2 separate regions of the Homo sapiens genome follow, and region 2 is linked to region 1. The links are contacts of gene promoters, found by promoter capture Hi-C in human tissues and cell types (Jung and others, 2019). All regions are on one chromosome and are shown on one strand. Each heading gives the region's core, a stretch centred on a gene start or on the middle of the fragment in contact. The rest is flanking DNA. Distances are from core to core; before and after follow the strand shown. Region 1 holds the start of MYH7 (myosin heavy chain 7). Region 2 has its middle 28 kb from the start of NGDN.

Region 1 (5,125 bases), core at 2,002-4,501:
TCTCTTTGTTCACATCCATCAGAAAGCAGAGACCTAGAGTAGGGAATGAGAGGGGGTGCACAAGTACAAAAGATTTTGAAGCCAGCAGGAAGACAAAAGAATGACAAGAAGGAGCAGCTGTTTGTAAAGGGAAATCTGAGACAGGCAGAAAGCTCAGCTCCCTAATCCTAGGCTCGTGTGGAGCCAGGGCAGGGTCCCCCCAAGGTCAGGGATTCTGGGGGCAGGCGGATGGGAGAGTCAGCCTCCACTCCTGGGTGGCTCCCCTCTGCCCTGTGCACAAACAACGAGTGCCTCATTCCTCCCCTGCACCAAGTGCCCTGCCTCTTCCTGCCCCGTTTCTTCCTTCCCTTTGGGTACCGGAGCTTTTTTCTGATTCCCCTCTCTCCATGCTGACATCGCTTCTAATTCGCCCTGGTGTCTCCCTCCCTCACAATTACTGGGAGTAATTTTAGCAACTTTTCCTCTGAACTACCGCTGGCGTGTTCACAGCAAATGGCCCCTGTTTTGGCTTGACACTTGATCAGGGTGGTGACAGAGTGCAGACAAAGCCGGCACAATGCGGGGAGGGGAGGACGGGGGACAGATCACCTTCCTTTCACTTCAGGCCTTATTTGGTCTACCTTGCCGAAGCGGCCCTCCTTCCAGCCTCTCTTTATTTATAGCATTTTGCTTTGCTCTCCTTTATCTTGCTATCACTTTGTAGCACACTCTGCACAATCCCCACCCACCCCAGCATGGTGGGGCCCCTGGCCCCTCACTCTCCCCACAAGGAATGTGCATGTGTGCAAAGGGTAGGCCTGGATGCCATTTCTACAAACAGTTGACTAAAGCAGTCCAGAGCAGGGATCTTTCTTTGGGTCATTGTTATGTCCTTATTGACCAGAATAATGCCTGGCACATAGTAGGCACTCAATAAATACTTGTTGAATGGAGGAATCTGCAAAGCTGCTCAGTCTTCAGACAGCAGCAAGCAGCAGGAAGAGAATCATGATGTAACCAAGAGCAGGTGCTGGAGGAGCTAGGGAGTGAGTGGGGATCTTTAAGGACAGCAGGCCCTCTGATCTGTCTGAGCTGTGAGGCAAAGCCTAGTTAGGGAGGTGAGTTCTATCTGCAATGAGAGGGGGCATGGGTGGAGAACAGTAACACCCAAACACCAACAGACCAGAGCCTCCCAAACCCGAAAGGAGAGAAACAAAGTGTGATTGATTTCCCAAATGCAGAAAAGACTACCCAAGTCCCCAGCCAAGGAAGGACGCTGGCCTGTGGTGAAGACACTGGCTTTGAAATGGCTCAACTACGTCCCAAGCACCCTTTGTGCATCTTAATTGCCCTGGGAAATCAGGGAGGGGTGGCAGTTTGGAGCTTGGAAAGCTGGAAGGTGGGGACGAAAGGAGTTTTTGCCCCTCATCGCCAATCCTTGAGGTTCCTACAGGGAACCTCAGACAACAGCTGTCTTAGGGGTTTCCTTCCAGCTCCAAGCAGCTGTATTATCTATAGCTTTGAGAGGGTCTGTCTCTGTCAATGGGGCTGATTCCTCAGCACCTGGCAGGGCCTGGGGGGGACTGCCAGAGTCTGTTCTGCCGGGCATGTTAGTAGCACAGACTACTGGGATAACCTCAGCAACTGTATACCTTAGCACTGCAGAGCTGCGGTGTTGTCAGACACAGCCCTTGCAGTTCGTGGTCTACCCCCACTTGCCTGCACCCCCCTTATAGCTGCTCAATGTCCTCAGACTGTACCTTAGTGCCTTGGTTACCAAGCAACCCCCACAGAGGCCTCCTCCTGGATTTTCCCTTCCCTGCTATGCCCACCCCACCTTCAAAATGTACCTGCTGCACCCATCCCCCAGGCCTGCCTCACTCCTTCCAAGCTGACAGCTAATCAGATGGACTAATCCGCATGCGCGGAAGAGCTGTGCTTGGGAAGAAGGGGGAGATTTCACACCAAATCGTGCAGTGGTTGCCTAGACACGGAGCCAGTCAAGCTTGCATGCCCCGTTGCTAGAAGAGCATGGCATCGGTTGTGTTCTGTGCTCGTAGGCTGGGCCCCAGCTCCCTTTCCTCCCCTCCTTTGTGGCTGTTCCTCAGGCCTGCAGAGGGGAAGATTTTTCCTGTCCTGTTACTCTGCCTCACTTGCCAGAACACTAGTCGCCTCCAGCTCTGGATAAAGCTGAGGCTGGGTGGGCCAGACAACAGCTGTCTTAGGGGTCTCCTTCCAGCTCCAAGTAGTTGTATTATCTATAGCTCTGAGAGGGTCTGTCTCTGGGCTCAGGCCTTTAGTACCTGTGGGGCAGAGCCAGGAACGTGAGTCAGGCAAACCGCTCCAAACTAGGACCAATGCAGCTGGGTCCTGCTCTCTGCGCATAGGGGGTCCCCACATCTTTGGAATCCCAGCCCACCTTTCCAGGCTACCCTCCACAGGCCGGGCTCCACTCCCATCTGCTGAGGTTTCCCACCTTGAATCCTGCTGCCCCGATTAGCTGTATAACCTTAAAGAATGCACTGTCCCTCTCCATTAAATGAAGTGCTTGGATGGATTGCTAAAGGCCTGTCTGGCTCGGAGGCTTGGTGACCTCAACACATTGCCTGCTGGTCCAAGGAAATCAGTGCCTGAGCCAGAGTCCCCATCTCTAAGCTCCATGGTTATTGTTCTTGCCACCTGGCTAGGAAATGTCCTTCCAGCTGCCCCAGTCTAGCTGCCTCACCCTGGGGCCATGCCCCCAACTCTGTCCTACCCTTCTCTGCTGCTGACACTCAGCCCCTTCCCAGCTTCCAGTTGGATACAGGACCTGGGCCAGGAGAGCAGGGAGGACACTGTGGAAATGCGGCCAGGCCATCAGGGGCCTCGCAGCAGGGGACTGGAGGGGGAGCAGTGTCCAGGGCCAGAAGTGCCCTGCGGGAGAGCCAGGACATTGGCTGCCTGTGGTCTTGGTGGTCGTGGTCAGTTCCCTCTCCTGCCAGCTGTGGAATGTGAGGCCTGGCCTGGGAGATATTTTTGCTGCACTTTGAGCCACCCCGCCCCCTGGAACTCAGACCCTGCACAGTCCATGCCATAACAATGACGACCACTTCCAATTGTTTCCTAGCTGGAGAGGCGGGGAGGGGAGCACTGTTTGGGAAGGGGGGGAGCCTGGGGGAAATGCTTCTAGTGACAACAGCCCTTTCTAAATCCGGCTAGGGACTGGGTGCCGTTGGGGGTGGGGGTGCCCTGCTGCCCCATATATACAGCCCCTGAGACCAGGTCTGGCTCCACAGCTCTGTCCTGCTCTGTGTCTTTCCCTGCTGCTCTCAGGTAGGAGCGGGAGCTGGAGGCTTTACTCTGGGATAAGGGGGCTCCAGGCTTAGGAAGGGATTCCTCTTGGAATAGCAAGCTTCATGCAGGACTTCATGCAGAGTACCAGGTCCAGTCACTGGGCACACATGTGCAGGTCTAAACATGGGCGTATGTGCCACAGGAGTTCCTAGGGGAAGATATCTGCATCTGAGCATATGGGACCAATATGCATTACAGGGTGTGTGTGTGTGTGTGTGTGTGTGTGTGTGTGTGGACAAGCCTGCATAGTCTGAATGTGAGAAAGGGTATGTACCTCACTGACTGATACAGAAATATCAAGTGGGAGATGTGGGTGTATGATCACGTCTGTGAACGAGGAGGTTCCTTTGCAGGGAGGGAGAAAGAATGGTGGAGAAGGATTCTAGGAAGTGTGTATGCCTTCATGTGATTCTGTGAGGCCTGGAATGTGTAGCTACCCCTGTCCATGCATGCAGAGGTTCTTGTCTATGCCTCCACGAGTCATGACTGTTATAGTATCTGTACCCTCTGCAGAAGGAACTCACAGGCACGGGGGTGTAGGATGTTCCAGGTCTTTGTGTACTGAAGAACACGCAGTGATGTGATCTACTTACGTGGCACACATCCTGAAATGTGCACATTTGCTGTTGAGGCATATATGGCACCCTGGGGTTGGGGTGCGGATTGAGGTATGGGAAGGAAGCCTGTCTTCATGTGAGAGGCATGCCCAAGCAGCAGGCATGAGTGTTCATCAGAGGGCTTGTGGAGGGTGTTTGGCTATGTGATGGGTGTGTCTGTGAGAGGAAGCCCACAGTGTCTTCTCTCTGAGAATGTCCACAAAGTCTGACAACAAAATGGGGACAGGATGGAAAAGAAGTCTCTTTAGAGTCATCAGACTTGCATTCAAGTCTTGGCTCTCCCACTTGTTGTCATGGGCTCTTGGCCAAGCAAGCCATTTAACCTCGATTTCCTCATCTGTCAAATGGGGTGAAGACTGAGTAGGAGAAAGTGCATTGAAGTGCTTTTAGACTGGAAAGTGCCGAACAAATGTGACCATTAGTTGTCTCTCAGATGGCTCAAAGAAAGGTACCACTAGATGGGTACAGGCAGGGGTGGGACCATCTCGCAGGAGTGAAGAGGATTAGGGTTCAGGTTGAGTTGACACCAGGAAGCTGTTAGAACTAGTTCTTGAGGAAAAAGGGAATAGGGTTTGAAAAACAAGAAGGATGGGACCAGAGAAGCTGACCACCCTTTCCACCTTGTTTTGGAAGAGGGTGGATGCTGAAGAACAGAGCCAGGGAGAAGCAGGAAGGTGGGACTGGTCAGGTTGGGCACAGCCTGCCCTGACACAGCCTCTTCCCTCTCTCCAGGTCCCCTGCAGGCCTTGGCCCCTTTCCTCATCTGTAGACACACTTGAGTAGCCCAGGTAAGAAAAGCTGAAGCTAGAGTGTTGAAAATCTAGTAAGACTGGGCATTAGAGCCCCAAAGCCAGCCTATGGAACTCTAGTTTCTGCCATGTGCTGGAGAGAATATCTTGGCTATCAAGAGCTACTTACCTGTGACCAGGGGGTCCAGGGATAGATGAGGGTCAGAGATGGAAATAGTTAGATTTCTGCTCCTACAGGGAGCTCAGAATGCTCTTCCTTCCCCTAGGAGAGCCCCAGCTTGAACAATAGTTAGTTGTTCCTTTTACCCTGGCAGGTTTGCTAGGCTGCTCCTCTGGTTAAGGGGTAACCTCAAAGAGGAAGGGACTCACTGGTAACTCCTCTTGACTCTTGAGCATGGTGCTAGGTTTTGGGGCTCCCACTGAAGGGGAGAGCCCAGGGAGGGAAGG
Region 2 (5,125 bases), core at 1,376-3,875, 62 kb before region 1:
ACATGCATGTTTATAGCAGCACAATTCGCAATTGCAGAAATACAGAACCAGGCCAAATGCCCATCAATCAATCAATGAGTGGGCAAAGAAAATGTGGTGCATATCTACCATGGAATACTACTCAGCCATAAAAAGGAACCAAATAATGGCATTTGCAGCAACCTGGATGGAGTTGGAGACCATTATTCTAAGTGAAGTAACTCAGGAATGGAAAACTAAACATTGTATATGCTCACTTATAAGTGGGAGCTAAACTATAAGGAATCAAAGATATAAGAATGATACAATGAGCCTTGGGGACTTGAGGGGAAGGGTTGCGGGGGTTGAGTGATAAAAGACTACACATTGGTTGCAGTGTACACTGCTTGGTGATGGGTGCACCAAAATCTCAGACATCACCACTAAAGAACTTAATCATGTAACCAAACACCACCTGTTCCCCAAAAACTATTGAAATACAAAAAAAATTAAACTAAAGTTTGTTTAGATCATCCAGGTGAAAGTACCCATCAAATAATGAATACAGGAGTTAGAAGCTGAAGATAGAGACTTAGGAATTATTAGGAAATTGATGTAGTTGAAACCATGGGAGTGAATGACATGACCCAGTGAGAAAATGCTGCGTGAGAAGCAGAGAAGAGGACAGACTCTTAAGATGTCTAAGGGGTGAGAGAAGGCTCTGAAGCCAAAGAGACCAAGAAGGAACAGGGAGATGCAAAGACCAATGGGAGTGTACATCACAGAAACCAAGGAAGAAGAGTTTCAAGAAGAAAAGTTCAACAGGTCAAATGGTGAGGTCCACTGGGTTTGGGCAAAGCCAAAGATCTTGTGGCCTTGCTAATCTGTCCCATTCAGGCTATTGCCATAGAACACTGCTTAGGACTGTTTTGTTTGATGATTCCCATTTTAACACCGCTGAATGAGAAAAACTATTTTATTTATTTCTTTATTGTATTTATTTATTTTTTTTGAGACAGTCTTGCTCTGTCACCCAGGCTGGAGTATAGTGGCACGATCTCCGCTCACTGCAAGCTCCGCCTCCCGGGTTCACGCCATTCTCCTGCCTCAGCCTCCCGAGTAGCTGGGACTACAGGTGCCTGCCACCACGCCCGGCTAATTTTTTGCATTTTTAGTAGAGATGGGGTTTCACCATGTTAGCCAGGATGGTCTCAATCTCCCGACCTCGTGATCCACCCGCCTCGGCCTCCCGAAGTGCTAGGATTACAGGCGTGAGCCACCGCACCCAGCCAAGAAAAACTATTTATATTCTCATGCTGAAGCTCAGCAAAGAAGCATGCCAGTACAGCAACAGCAGTATTCCAAGGGGGCAGCTAGGCAGCATCCTGAGGACCAAGATCCACATCTGAGAAAGGAGCTCTTGTAATAAATCTGGAACCCTGGAAAATTTTTTCACTCTCTAAGGAAAAAATCTCCAAAAGCCTCAGTTTCCTCATCTGTAAGATGGTTGCAAAATGCCCCAGTGACTGTAAAGATTAAATGAGCTAGTTTTCCTAAGAAAAACCCCTTATCCTGTGGTTGGCATTTAGGAGTCACCCAATAAATGCTAACACATATTCATATCCTTCTTTCCTTTATAAGTTTTAAAAACTTTTACTTATTTTTATTTTTATTTTTTTTGAGACAGAGTCTCGCTCTGTCGCCCAGGCTGGAGTGCAGTGGCGCAATCTCGGCTCACTGCAACCTCCGCCTCCTGTGTTCACGCCATTCTCCTGCCTCAGCCTCCCGAGTAGCTGGGACTATAGGCACACACCACCGCGCCAGGCTAATTTTTGTATTTTTAGTAGAGACGGGGTTTCACTATGTTGGCCAGGCTGGTCTGAACTCCTATCCTCAGGTGATCCACCCACCTAGGCCTCCCAAACTGTTGGGGATTACAGGCGTGAGCCACCACACCTGGCCTAGCATTAAAAACTTTAAACCTGTCAGGGCACGGTGGCTCACGCCTGTAATCTCAGCACTTTGGGAGGCCACAGCAGGTGGATCACATGAGGTCAGGAGTTCGAGACTAGCCTGACCAACATGGAGAAACCCCCGTCACTACTAAAAATACAAAATTAGCCAGGCATGGTGGCACATGCCTGTAATCCCAGCTACTAGGGAGGGTGAGGCAGGAGAATTGCTTGAACCTGGGAGGCGGAGGTTGCGGTGAGCCGAGATTGCGCCACACTCCAACCTGGGCAACAAGAGTGAAACTCCAACTCAAAAAAAAAAAAAAAAAAAAATTTTAAACCTAAGATCTCATATGATCAAACTAGAGAGATCGCAACTTAGGAAGAAATAGTGAAACCCAACTTCAGAGAAGTTAAGTGCCTTACCAAAGGCCACACAGAAATTAGCTGCAGAGCCAAGATTGGAATGCAGAGCTAAGTCTTTTGTTTATTTGTTTGTTTGTTTTTAGACGGAGTTTCGCTCTTGTTGCCCAGGCTGGAGTGCAATGGCCCGATCTCGGCTCACCGCAACCTCCACCTCCCAGGTTCAAAAAATTCTCCTGCCTCAGCCTCCCGAGTAGCTGAGATTACAGGCATGCACCACTACGCCCTGCTAATTTTGTATTTTTAGTAGAGATGGGGTTTCTCCATGTTGAGGCTGGTCTCGAACTCCTGACCTCAGGTGATCCACCCGCCTCAGCCTCCCAAAGTGCTGGGGTTACAGGTGTGAGCCACCGCGCCCAGCCCTGTTTGTTTGTTTTGAGACAGGGTCTCACTCTGTCACCCAGGCTGTTGTGCAGTGGCACAGTCATGACTTACTGCAGCCTCGACCTCCCAGGCTCAGGGGATCCTCCCACCTCCGCTTCCTGAGTAGCTAGGACTATAGGCGTGCGCTACCACAACCAGCTAATTTTTGTATTTGTTTTAGAGACAGGGTTTTGCCATGTTGCCCAGGCTGGTCTCAAACTCCTAGGCTCAGGCAATCCACCCACCTCAGCCTCCCAAAGTGCTGGGATTACAGGTATGAGTTACTGCACCCAGGCCAGAACTGCTAAGTCTTAGTCCAGGGTTTTGTCATCTATAGCACATAAATGTCCCAAATCTTTTTGTAAGTAAAACCGTTTTCACTAATCATTAAATTTTGCATAAATCTGAGTGGTTTTTTTTTTGGAGATGGAGTCTCACTCCGTTGCCCAGGCTGGAGTGCAGTGGTATGATCTGAGCTCACTGCAACCTCCATCTCCTGGGTTCAAGCCATTCTCCTGCCTCGGCCTCCTCAGCTGCTGGGACTACAGCCATGCGCCACCATGCCCGGCTAAGTTTTTTTATTTTTAGTAGAGACGGGGTTTCACTATGTTGGCCAGACTGATCTCGAACTCCTGACCTCAAGTGATCCGCCCACCTCGGCCTCCCAAAGTGGTGGGATTACAGGTGTGAGCCACCATAAATCTGAATTTTTAATATAGTAACCTCATTAGTAACTGGACCAATCTACAAGGAATTCACTCTAGGGAACCTGAGCCCTCTGAACCCTCTTGGCTTTCCCCAACAGGACAGTGCCTGTGACAAGCTCAGGAACAAAGGAACACAATAGTCCTATTTCCCAGATTTCTTCTTCCGAATATTATTTACTACCAGTTTTATCCTTGACCTTGAAGCTGAGCCCAGCTAAACAGACTACCAAGATCCTTCCACTTGGCAGGATCCCTTTTTAGCCAGAAGGCAAGACCCAAGATGCATAATGTCCAAGGCTCACTCTAGCCACGACATTCCTCTGCTCTTGAAATGCCAGCAGAAATTGTACCATAAGGCAATGTTCAGTAGATAAGCCATCTCTAAGTATATGTAGTATGTTAGATGTTGCAAATGCCACAGAGAAAAATAAAGCAGGGAAGGGGGACAGGGGTTTGTATAGAGGGAAAGATAGGGCCATTTTAAATAGAGCGGTCATAGAGAAGGGGACATTTGAGTAAAGATCATTCTCTGAAACAAAGACAAGATCAGCTCAAAATATAACCTTTGTAGGTCTCAGTTACTTCATCTGCAAGGCAGGGATACTTCAGGACCTACCTGGACGCAGGAGACTTAATGCCTCCGAGGAAAGTGTTTTTGTGGTTAAGAGCACATTCTACTTTAAGCTTTGCTTTGGAAATTTCCTGTTCTATGTATCAACACAGAGTGGATATTACTTTCTCTTTAAAGATGAGGCAACTGAAAGGCTGACTCCCTCAAATTTACCCTGTTGGTAAGTAGCAGAGGTGAGAGTAGAACCCAGGTCTTCTGACTCATAATCCAGGGCACTTTTCTCTATAACACATGGCCTGGACTGAAGCTACAGGCAGTTCACATCTCATAAGGTGACAAGGGTTTCCCAATGGCATGCATCAGACTAATGATGGCATTCTGCATTTACTTCAATATCTCCCTCCAAGGATCTTAAAGCACTATATAATTTTAAGAGCTAAGGGAGTTTTATTTTGTCAAGTGATGCAAAACTATTTCACCAAGGCCCTCAGAAATGGCTTACTTTTCATTGTCAGACCTTAGTCAATCAATTAATATTTATCAAGGGCTTTGCTAAGTATCTAGCTCCAAGTAAGGAGCTATAGAGTACCTATTTTTTAAGAAAAGAGAGAGATGTAATTATGAGTATCCCAATTCCTGCAATTAAGTTGTTTTAATAGTAGTTACTGAATCACTTAATTTTTCCTCCTTTTTAATCCCTTTAAGCTTTGCCTTGAAACTTCATCATGGGCTCTTGGGATCAGGAAAGAAGTTTTGTAAGTCCAATTCTTATACCCTCTTTGCACATAGGAGGTACTCAATCAGCTTATAGATTACGATCCAGCTCTAGGTAAGAGAACTGGGACTTGAACCTAGGTCTTATTATTCCCAGTTAGGGTTCTTGCCACTTTACCATACCAGACTGCATGTGAAGAGTATTCCTAACCCCATGTGTGACCCAATGATGTTATCAAGGTTTCTGCTCCAATAAATTCTCCTCAAAAGAGGGGAATGCATCTACCATCATACCAGGTTTCCATACGACCCTGAGTCTACAGACAGCTAAAGTACAGCCCCAGCCCCAATACCATAGTCCTGGACCAAGGCCCCCAAATCTCTCTGTCATGTCTTATGGATCCACTCCATTGATCTTACATAGTACTTTAAACAGA

The links. The method cuts DNA at HindIII sites, captures the fragments that hold promoters and counts their contacts. A contact is called where the count stands out against the background at its distance.
Region 2: a contact is called between a fragment that was not itself captured here and the fragment with the promoter of MYH7 in region 1, in 4 of the 25 tissues and cell types used here (aorta, liver, lymphoblastoid cells and 1 more).

What each region holds. Positions count from the first base shown.
Region 1 is chr14:23,433,786-23,438,910 of GRCh38, reverse strand. It overlaps MYH7 (myosin heavy chain 7), which reads left to right and starts at 3,251. Exons shown (of 40, transcript NM_000257.4): 1 at 3,251-3,291; 2 at 4,662-4,717. RefSeq lists enhancers at 276-776, 1-1,533, 2,554-3,391. The HindIII fragment of the contact is 9,172 bases long and covers 438-5,125 here.
Region 2 is chr14:23,495,258-23,500,382 of GRCh38, reverse strand. No RefSeq gene overlaps it. Among named protein-coding and RNA genes, the nearest start is that of NGDN, 28 kb to the right of the region's middle. The HindIII fragment of the contact is 8,706 bases long and covers 1-5,125 here.